Regions from separate parts of the Homo sapiens genome. Here region 2 is linked to region 1. The links are contacts of gene promoters, found by promoter capture Hi-C in blood cells and fetal thymus (Javierre and others, 2016). All regions are on one chromosome and are shown on one strand. The core of a region is centred on a gene start or on the middle of the fragment in contact, and the rest is flanking DNA. Distances in the headings are between cores, read along the strand shown. Region 1 holds the start of LINC01530 (long intergenic non-protein coding RNA 1530). Region 2 holds the start of PPP1R12C (protein phosphatase 1 regulatory subunit 12C).

Region 1 (4,191 bases), core at 714-3,213:
TCCACCATGAGTACAACACAAATGCTCGTTCTTAATGATTCAACAAACATGGAATTTCATTAAATCTGAAATAAAGGTATTTTGAGAAATTGAATTCCGTTATCAAGTGTGAAGTCCTGATCCAGACTCACCTCGTGCACACTATTTACCACAAAGGTGGACTCCCTATTTTAAATGCATTCACTTAAAGAGACCTTTCCCTGTACTAATTAGTGTTTGTTAAGAAGGACCTTCTGGACATAGTTGAAAGAAAGAGAAAAGAAGCAGGTGTGGGGAGGAGGAGAAGGAGAAGGGAGGAAGGGAGGGAGGGGAAAGAAGATGGATGGACAGATGGAAGGAAGGAATTAGGGATGGCAGAAAGGAGATAAAATAAACTCTACTTTTAAAAGAAACCAGGTGGGGTGAGTGGGAGGGCTTCCCTGTGACCTTGGCCTCAGGGGCTCTTTCTGGCTTCCAGATAAGATACCCCTCAGCTTTGCACTGGGTCTCCTGAGGCTTGGAAGTTATGTCCACAGTGAGGTTGGTGTAGAGGGGCAGCCACTCTTTGGAGAGCAACCTGTAGCCCAGACAGTTGATGCCATCATCAGAGGATCCAGGGATCGGAGGATTGGCGGATCCGGGACAGAAGGCGAGGCCTGGAGGATGGGGAGGGGCAGCCATGTGAGCCTCAGGGAGGACCCAGAACCAACCACCCCACTTCCAACACTGATTCACCTCCAGGGCCTCTGCTTGTGGCCAGGATCTTCCCCCTCCAGCATATGGTAGCCTCTGAAAAGCAGGTGGGGCTGGGAGAGGAGCATCCCGCTTAGTTTCACCCTTCCAGAGACACAGGAAGGCATGGAGGCCAAACACCTGTCTCTGACAGGGTCCCCATGCCACAGCCCAGCCCTCCAGTCCAGGGTAGCCCATGTCCCCCTCAGCCCAGGGCGGCCCATACCTGCCTCATCATGTCAGGACCTGCAGCTCCTGCCTCCCACCTGGCAGTGATGTCATCCTCATCATCCCAACCCCACTACACGTTGGAGAAGCCATTTATCTTCAGGTAGTGAGTGGGGTGCAGGGCAAACACCCCTCCAAGGCACAAGCTAACGGCTTAATTGCTGTTGTTTCCCCATGTTCTGGCTTGCAGCACTTGTAACCTCTGGGCTCCTGCAGCCCTTAACATCTGATACCTTTACATTAAGATTTATCATCCTTATCTCTGGACCAGGCTGAATACACCTGTGTCCCGGTGCATCTGGCCAGCGGGTCAAAGGGCCTAGCACACAGATTAACAAATGAATGAGTTCCAGTTACCAAAGTTCAATCCTTGAGGTGGACAGAAGACGCCCAAGGCGTGTCTCCCATCACCCTTCACTCTCAATCCTCCTTATCAAGGGCCTCACGGGAATAGTGATAAGATCTCAGAATATACAGGAGGGAGCAGTTTCGGGAAGGGGGGCATTGGAAGGAAGTGGAGGGCTTGGATCTGGGGAGCAAGCGGGGAGAGTGCTCCGTTCCTTGGTTTTGGGATCTTGCCTTACGGGTCTCACCTGCCCTCCATCCTGGCTTCCACCTGGCAGGGTGTGTTTGTGTCAGAAAGACGATTGTGCGTAACTGTTCACCGCGTCCACGTCCCGAGAGTTGCGCACGCGTGGAGATCTGCAAAACGCTCCCTTTCAGCTCCGCGCATGCACAGAGACCCCACCCCGCAAGTCCTTGCCCTTCGGCCTGGGCAGGCGTCCACTCCCATGGCTGCAGGGCGCGCCGAAGAGCCCACTCTGCATCCCCGAGACGCGGCCCAATCCTAGGAATGTGCTTAGCGCAGGTGCTATCTTCCCTTTTCACATTCCCAATCTCTTTCTCCGCCCCCTCAAACTCTTGCCATACTCCCACAACAGCAGAAAATCTGAAAAAAAAGTCCATCCCATCTTTGCACTGACAGCAGTGCACAGCAGCTGGCAGAGAATTCTGGCACGGCTATTGTGCTTGCGCAGGCGCAGACGGGAAGCGGGCCGGACCGGCCTAGTACACTCTGGGAGGCGTGCGCAGAATGCGCAGCGCTGCCGCGAGGATCTCTGGGAACTGTAGGCCCAGTTTGTCCGAGAGCCGCAAGTGTTTCGGGACGACGCAACGCAGGGGCACCTGGGAGTCGTAGGCGGATGGGCCCAAAGCCTTCCGGGAGTCGTAGTCCTTCCGCCCGCTCCTCGTTTCTTTGGAGGTTGGCCCTTCCAGCTCCAGTTCTGCCCAGGTGAGCGCCCATCCCGCGGCCGGCCGGTCCTGGCCCTTTGTCGCGATGACGTGGCGGAGTTGAGGGTCTCTGTATTTCTCTCCCCCGCGTTCTGGTAGGCGTCCCTGGAAAGATGGCACCCTTTTCCGTGATCTCTCAATCCCTCTCTCCGGGTGGGAGTGCTCTAAGCAGCTGTTGTACCTGCTGACCCGCTTTGGATTCTGCGGCCCAGCCTGACACCTTCTCACTCTCGCCCTTCAACCTGGGTGCAGTGCGAGTGCACCCTCCTCTGTCCTGGTTACAACACAGAGTGGTCAGGGCTGGCCCAGGGGGTGCTCAGGAGGCTGTGGGAACACAGAGGAGGTGCTAGACCCAGCCCAGGGTTCAGGAAAGACCTTACAGAGCAAAGGACCTCAAATCTACCACATCCAAACGAAATCCCAGATTCCCTGTCCTAAACCTGCTCCTCTCACAATCTTTCTGCCTCCTCCCCACTAACTGTCCATCCAAGTGCTCAAGCCAAAATCTTGGAATGGTCGCCAGTGTTCTGTTTCTCTCATCCGCTTCCCTCCCGCAACCAAATCTTGTGTGAGTCTCATCGTCTCTATCTCCAGAAGAGGCCCAGAATCTAACCACTTCTCTCCACTTCCACTGTCTCCATTCTGCTCCGAGCTACCGTTACTCCTCACCTGCATCACTGCAGGGGCCTCCTCACTGTTCTGTTTCTTCCCTTGCCACACTCCACCCTCTATTCAGGCACAGTGCCAGGAAGCCTGTGGAAATATAAATCAGATCCTGTCACCAGTCACTACCCTGCCCCCCAGCTTAAAATCATCCAGTGGTTCCCATCTCAGAATAAAATCCAAGCTCCTTATCCTGCCAACCTCTAAGCTTCTGGTCCTTTCTGGTCGTCCTCAGTCACAACACACTTTCCAATGGGCTGAACACAGCCAGGCCCTGCCCTTCATGTCCTTTGCATTTGCTATTAACTCAATTTGGAGCATTCTTCCCACCCTGACCCAATATCTGTCTACTCATTTTGTTGGCCTCAGCTCAAAGGCCTCCAGCCACCCTAAAGAACCCCCTCCCTGTTCCCCCCCCCCCAGTCATACCACCAAAGATAATTCCCTCGTATTTGGAAAGCATCTTAGTCATTTACTTCCTTATCCATGGCCTGGTTCCTCCATTAGAACATCAGTGCCCTGACAGCTGCAACCTTTCCTATCTTGCTCACTGCTGTGTCCCAGTACCTAGAGCATGCTGGGTACATAGGCGGCACTCAGTGGGTATTTGTTAAATGAATGAATGAAAGTTTGAGCTGAGACTTGAAGGTAAGAGTTAGGTCTACCACAGTGTTTAGGGAAGTGTCTTGCGCAATGAGATCAGCCTGGCCAAAGATGCAAGGGGTTGAAAAACCAATGGGAAGTTCATCTGGCTGAGGTGAGTAGGTAACTAAAACAGGGATGCAACTGGATCTGATAAGGACCTCAGGAAGTGAACCCCAGTACTAGGTGACTGCAGATTCAGAGGTTGAAAAAGCTGAGTTGTCTTCCATAGAGAAGCTGGGTGAAAGGTGGTGTTGCTTCCGGGAGACGGGGAGCTTGGTTAGGTAAGTTTCTGCCTTGGGGTGTGAGAGCTGGTCAGTTGGGCACTGAGATATGAGAGGCCTAGATGGGATCTTCCGTGGGGCATTTGGAGGGCCAGGCTGGTGGACATTGCGATTCAGAGTCACCCACAAACAGAATGAGAAGAGGGGTGATGGGCAGGATATGAGGACTGTGAAGAGGCCTCCCCAGAAGATATTAAGCAGGAGGCAAAAAACAAGAACAAAGAGGGAGGACTAAATCAAAAGCTGTGGGAGAAAGTATTTCAAAGGGGACTTTGCTCCGCTGTGACAGATGTACCTGACATCACCGCAGTTGAGTCCTGAGGGCTGCTTGATGGCTCAGTGACAGGGAAGAGTGCTTTGGGCAAAGAGAAGA
Region 2 (4,191 bases), core at 687-3,186, 3.5 Mb after region 1:
ATCAGGAGACTAGGAAGGAGGAGGCCTAAGGATGGGGCTTTTCTGTCACCAATCCTGTCCCTAGTGGCCCCACTGTGGGGTGGAGGGGACAGATAAAAGTACCCAGAACCAGAGCCACATTAACCGGCCCTGGGAATATAAGGTGGTCCCAGCTCGGGGACACAGGATCCCTGGAGGCAGCAAACATGCTGTCCTGAAGTGGACATAGGGGCCCGGGTTGGAGGAAGAAGACTAGCTGAGCTCTCGGACCCCTGGAAGATGCCATGACAGGGGGCTGGAAGAGCTAGCACAGACTAGAGAGGTAAGGGGGGTAGGGGAGCTGCCCAAATGAAAGGAGTGAGAGGTGACCCGAATCCACAGGAGAACGGGGTGTCCAGGCAAAGAAAGCAAGAGGATGGAGAGGTGGCTAAAGCCAGGGAGACGGGGTACTTTGGGGTTGTCCAGAAAAACGGTGATGATGCAGGCCTACAAGAAGGGGAGGCGGGACGCAAGGGAGACATCCGTCGGAGAAGGCCATCCTAAGAAACGAGAGATGGCACAGGCCCCAGAAGGAGAAGGAAAAGGGAACCCAGCGAGTGAAGACGGCATGGGGTTGGGTGAGGGAGGAGAGATGCCCGGAGAGGACCCAGACACGGGGAGGATCCGCTCAGAGGACATCACGTGGTGCAGCGCCGAGAAGGAAGTGCTCCGGAAAGAGCATCCTTGGGCAGCAACACAGCAGAGAGCAAGGGGAAGAGGGAGTGGAGGAAGACGGAACCTGAAGGAGGCGGCAGGGAAGGATCTGGGCCAGCCGTAGAGGTGACCCAGGCCACAAGCTGCAGACAGAAAGCGGCACAGGCCCAGGGGAGAGAATGCAGGTCAGAGAAAGCAGGACCTGCCTGGGAAGGGGAAACAGTGGGCCAGAGGCGGCGCAGAAGCCAGTAGAGCTCAAAGTGGTCCGGACTCAGGAGAGAGACGGCAGCGTTAGAGGGCAGAGTTCCGGCGGCACAGCAAGGGCACTCGGGGGCGAGAGGAGGGCAGCGCAAAGTGACAATGGCCAGGGCCAGGCAGATAGACCAGACTGAGCTATGGGAGCTGGCTCAGGTTCAGGAGAGGGCAGGGCAGGGAAGGAGACAAAGTCCAGGACCGGCTGGAGGGGCTCAACATCGGAAGAGGGGAAGTCGAGGGAGGGATGGTAAGGAGGACTGCATGGGTCAGCACAGGCTGCCAAAGCCAGGGCCAGTTAAAGCGACTCCAATGCGGAAGAGAGTAGGTCGAAGGGGAATGGTAAGGAGGCCTGGGGCAGAGTGGTCAGCACAGAGTGGCTAAGCCCAGGGCCAGTTGAAGCGGCTCCAATTCGGAAGTGGGGTGGTCGAAGGGGAATGGTAAGGGGGACTGGGACGGGGTGTCAGCATAGGGTGGCAAAGCCCAGGGCCAGGAACGACGGGGCGGATCGAGACTGGCAACGGGGAAGGAGGATGCCCCAGGTGGCGCAGCAGAGGGTGGACCTGGCCCCGGGAGACGCCGGGCGGGGGGCGCTGACCTGGTGCAGGGCGCTGATACCGTCGGCGTTGGTGGAGTCCAGCACGGCGCGGGCGGGCGGCGGCGCGGCGGGGTCGAGCTCGGCGCCGGGGCCAGGGTCGGCGGCGCGCAGCATCAGACGCGCCTCGTCCAGGTCGCCGCCCGCACAGGCCGCCAGGAACTCGGCGGCGCGCTCGAAGCGGACGGTGCGGGCGCGGCGCTCTCCGGGGCCAGGCTCGGCGCCCGCCCGCGCCCCCCACTGCCGCAGCTGCTCCCGTCGCCGCTCCCGGGCAGCCGCCGCCGCCGCCCCCGGGCCAGCCGCCGGGCCATCCTCTCCGGACATCGCACCGCCCGCCCGCCCAGCGAGCGAGCGAGCGCCGAGCCCCAACCGCCGCCACCACCCGCCCGCCCGCCCGCCCCGGGGGCCGCCGGGAACTGCCGCTGGCCCCCCACCGCCCCAAGGATCTCCCGGTCCCCGCCCGGCGTGCTGACGTCACGGCGCTGCCCCAGGGTGTGCTGGGCAGGTCGCGGGGAGCGCTGGGAAATGGAGTCCATTAGCAGAAGTGGCCCTTGGCCACTTCCAGGAGTCGCTGTGCCCCGATGCACACTGGGAAGTCCGCAGCTCCGAGGCGCCCAGTGGAAATCGCCAGATGAGGGCCTCCTCCGGGGAATGCTGGGAAATGGAGTCTACAGGCCGGAGGGGTGCCCCACGGCATACTAGGAAGTGTGTAGCACCGGGTAAAGGGGATGAATAGCAGACTGCCCCGGGGCAGTTAGGAATTCGACTGGACAGCCGCGTGGGAGGGAGTGCGGGGAGAGGCAGAGTTGTTTTGTTATTGTTGTTTTATTTTGTTTTCTTTGTTTTGAGACGGAGTCTCGCTCTGTCGCCACGCTGGAGTTCAGTGGCGCGATATCGGCTCGCTGCAACCTCCGCTTCCCAGGTTCAAGCAATTCTGGCTCAGTCCCCAGAGTAGCTGGGATAACAGGCGCGCGCCACCCCGCCCTGCTAATTTTTATATTTTTAGTAGAGACGGGATTTCACCATGTTGGCCATGATGGTCTTGATCTCTTGACCTCATGATCCGCCCGCCTCGGCCTGTAATCCTGCTGGGATGACGAGCGTAAGCCACCATGCCCAGCTGGGTTTTATTTATTTTGGTTTTTTTCCTGACCCCTTAACTAGAAATAAGCTCCACGAGAGCGGGATCTTTTGTCTTCTGTGCACTACTTGTCCTCGGTTCTTAGAACAGAACCTGAGAGAACCTGATCGCAAATATTTTTGGAATGAATGAATGAATGGGTTCACCAGGGCACCATGGGAAACTGAGTCCGCAACCTAGAAGCCATGAAAGACAGTCCACTTCCAAGCTTCCCTGGGTGACCTCGCAGGGCATGCTGGGAAATGAAATTTGCGGTGAAAAGGTCAGGACCACGATCCTAGGGCACGCTGGGAAATGTAGCCCACAGGGCCACACCCCTAAAAGCACAGTGGGGTGCAAGGCAGGGCCCCAAGGCATTTAGGGCTCGGGGCAAGAGAAATCCACACTCCACTCCCTAATGGTAATCCCTGAGCCACACCGAGTAAAGGAACCCAAGACACAGTGTCCACAGGGACAGGGCTCTCAGAGCTTTCACTGGCCCGCGCTTCTCCTGCGCCCACCCGGACCTCCTGGGAACCGCCCAGGCCCTCGCGCGCTCTCAAGGCATGCTGGGATTGGTGGTCCCGGGCAAGGAGTTCCAGCAGGTGGGGGGCGAATCACCTTTCAGCGGGCCCAAGCGATGAGCACACCTTGATCTTCACCTTACGGATCCCGCGCCCAACTCAAGATTGGGAAGGTGGCTGGCACTTTGTGACAGGAAGAGTCCCATAAAAATCATACAGAAAAGGGCCAAAATCGGGACAGAGACTACAGACTGTTTCCCAAGCGCTGTGGGAGTTTCCCACCCACTCTGAAGTCCTTGGGTTTGCGCGGAGACGTAAACTGCGCATCCCACGAGGCCTGTTTCTTTCCCTCTCTCTTTCTCTTTTGTTGTTGTTGTTGCTGCTGCTGTTACGAAAATTTTTGTGGTTTTATTGTATCATGAGGCATTGAAACATCCGGCGACTCAATGTCTAGGCGGTGAGGCAGCCGCTTTCTCCTTCACTTTCTTTGGGTTAAGTAGAGCAACTTGTCAGTAGTTTTGTTTTTTTTTGTTGTTGTTGTTGTTTTTGAGACGGAGGCTTGCTCTGTCGCCCAGGCTGGAGTGCAGTGGCGCGATGTCGGCTCACTGCAAGCTCTGCCTCCCGGGTTCAAGCGATTCTCCTGCCTCAGCCTCCTGAGTAGCTGGGACTACAGGCGTGCTCCACCACGCCCGGCTAATTTTTGTTTTTTAGTAGAGACGGGGTTTCACCATGTTGGCCAGGCTGGTCTCGAATTCCTGACCTCGTGATCCGACTGCCTCGGCCTCCCAAAATGCTGGGATTACAGGCGTGAGCCGCCGCGACCGGCCAGATTTTTTTTTTTTTTAAAGGACAACCTTTTGCATTACTTAAGTCTTTCCAAGGCATGCGCTGGTACAACACAAACTTTTCCCATTACATGCAGCTAGTCTAGTGTCCAGACGTCATGCACAACACCTCCGTGGCATCAGCGCACTGCGCCCACTCCCACTGCGACCCTGCTCATTTGTGCATCATATCTGGAGGAGTGG

The links. The method cuts DNA at HindIII sites, captures the fragments that hold promoters and counts their contacts. A CHiCAGO score of 5 or more calls a contact.
Region 2: the fragment with the promoter of PPP1R12C here is called in contact with the fragment with the promoter of LINC01530 in region 1 in 2 of 17 cell types (non-activated CD4 T cells and total CD8 T cells); the score reaches 11.3 in non-activated CD4 T cells.

The regions. Positions count from the first base shown.
Region 1 is chr19:51,592,417-51,596,607 of GRCh38, forward strand. It overlaps LINC01530 (long intergenic non-protein coding RNA 1530), which reads right to left and starts at 1,964. Exons shown (of 2, transcript NR_034159.1): 1 at 1,533-1,964; 2 at 1-635. It overlaps ZNF175 (zinc finger protein 175), which reads left to right. Exons shown (of 5, transcript NM_007147.4): 5 at 1-94. RefSeq lists enhancers at 408-1,043, 1,044-1,679, 1,680-2,315, 2,062-2,371, 2,582-2,631 and a silencer at 2,714-2,881. The HindIII fragment of the contact is 8,842 bases long and covers 1-3,098 here.
Region 2 is chr19:55,115,701-55,119,891 of GRCh38, forward strand. It overlaps PPP1R12C (protein phosphatase 1 regulatory subunit 12C), which reads right to left and starts at 1,937. Exons shown (of 22, transcript NM_017607.4): 1 at 1,523-1,937. The coding sequence starts at 1,843. RefSeq lists enhancers at 333-1,168, 523-572, 973-1,052, 2,013-2,292 and silencers at 1,483-1,582, 1,603-1,682, 1,873-1,952. The HindIII fragment of the contact is 6,736 bases long and covers 1-2,866 here.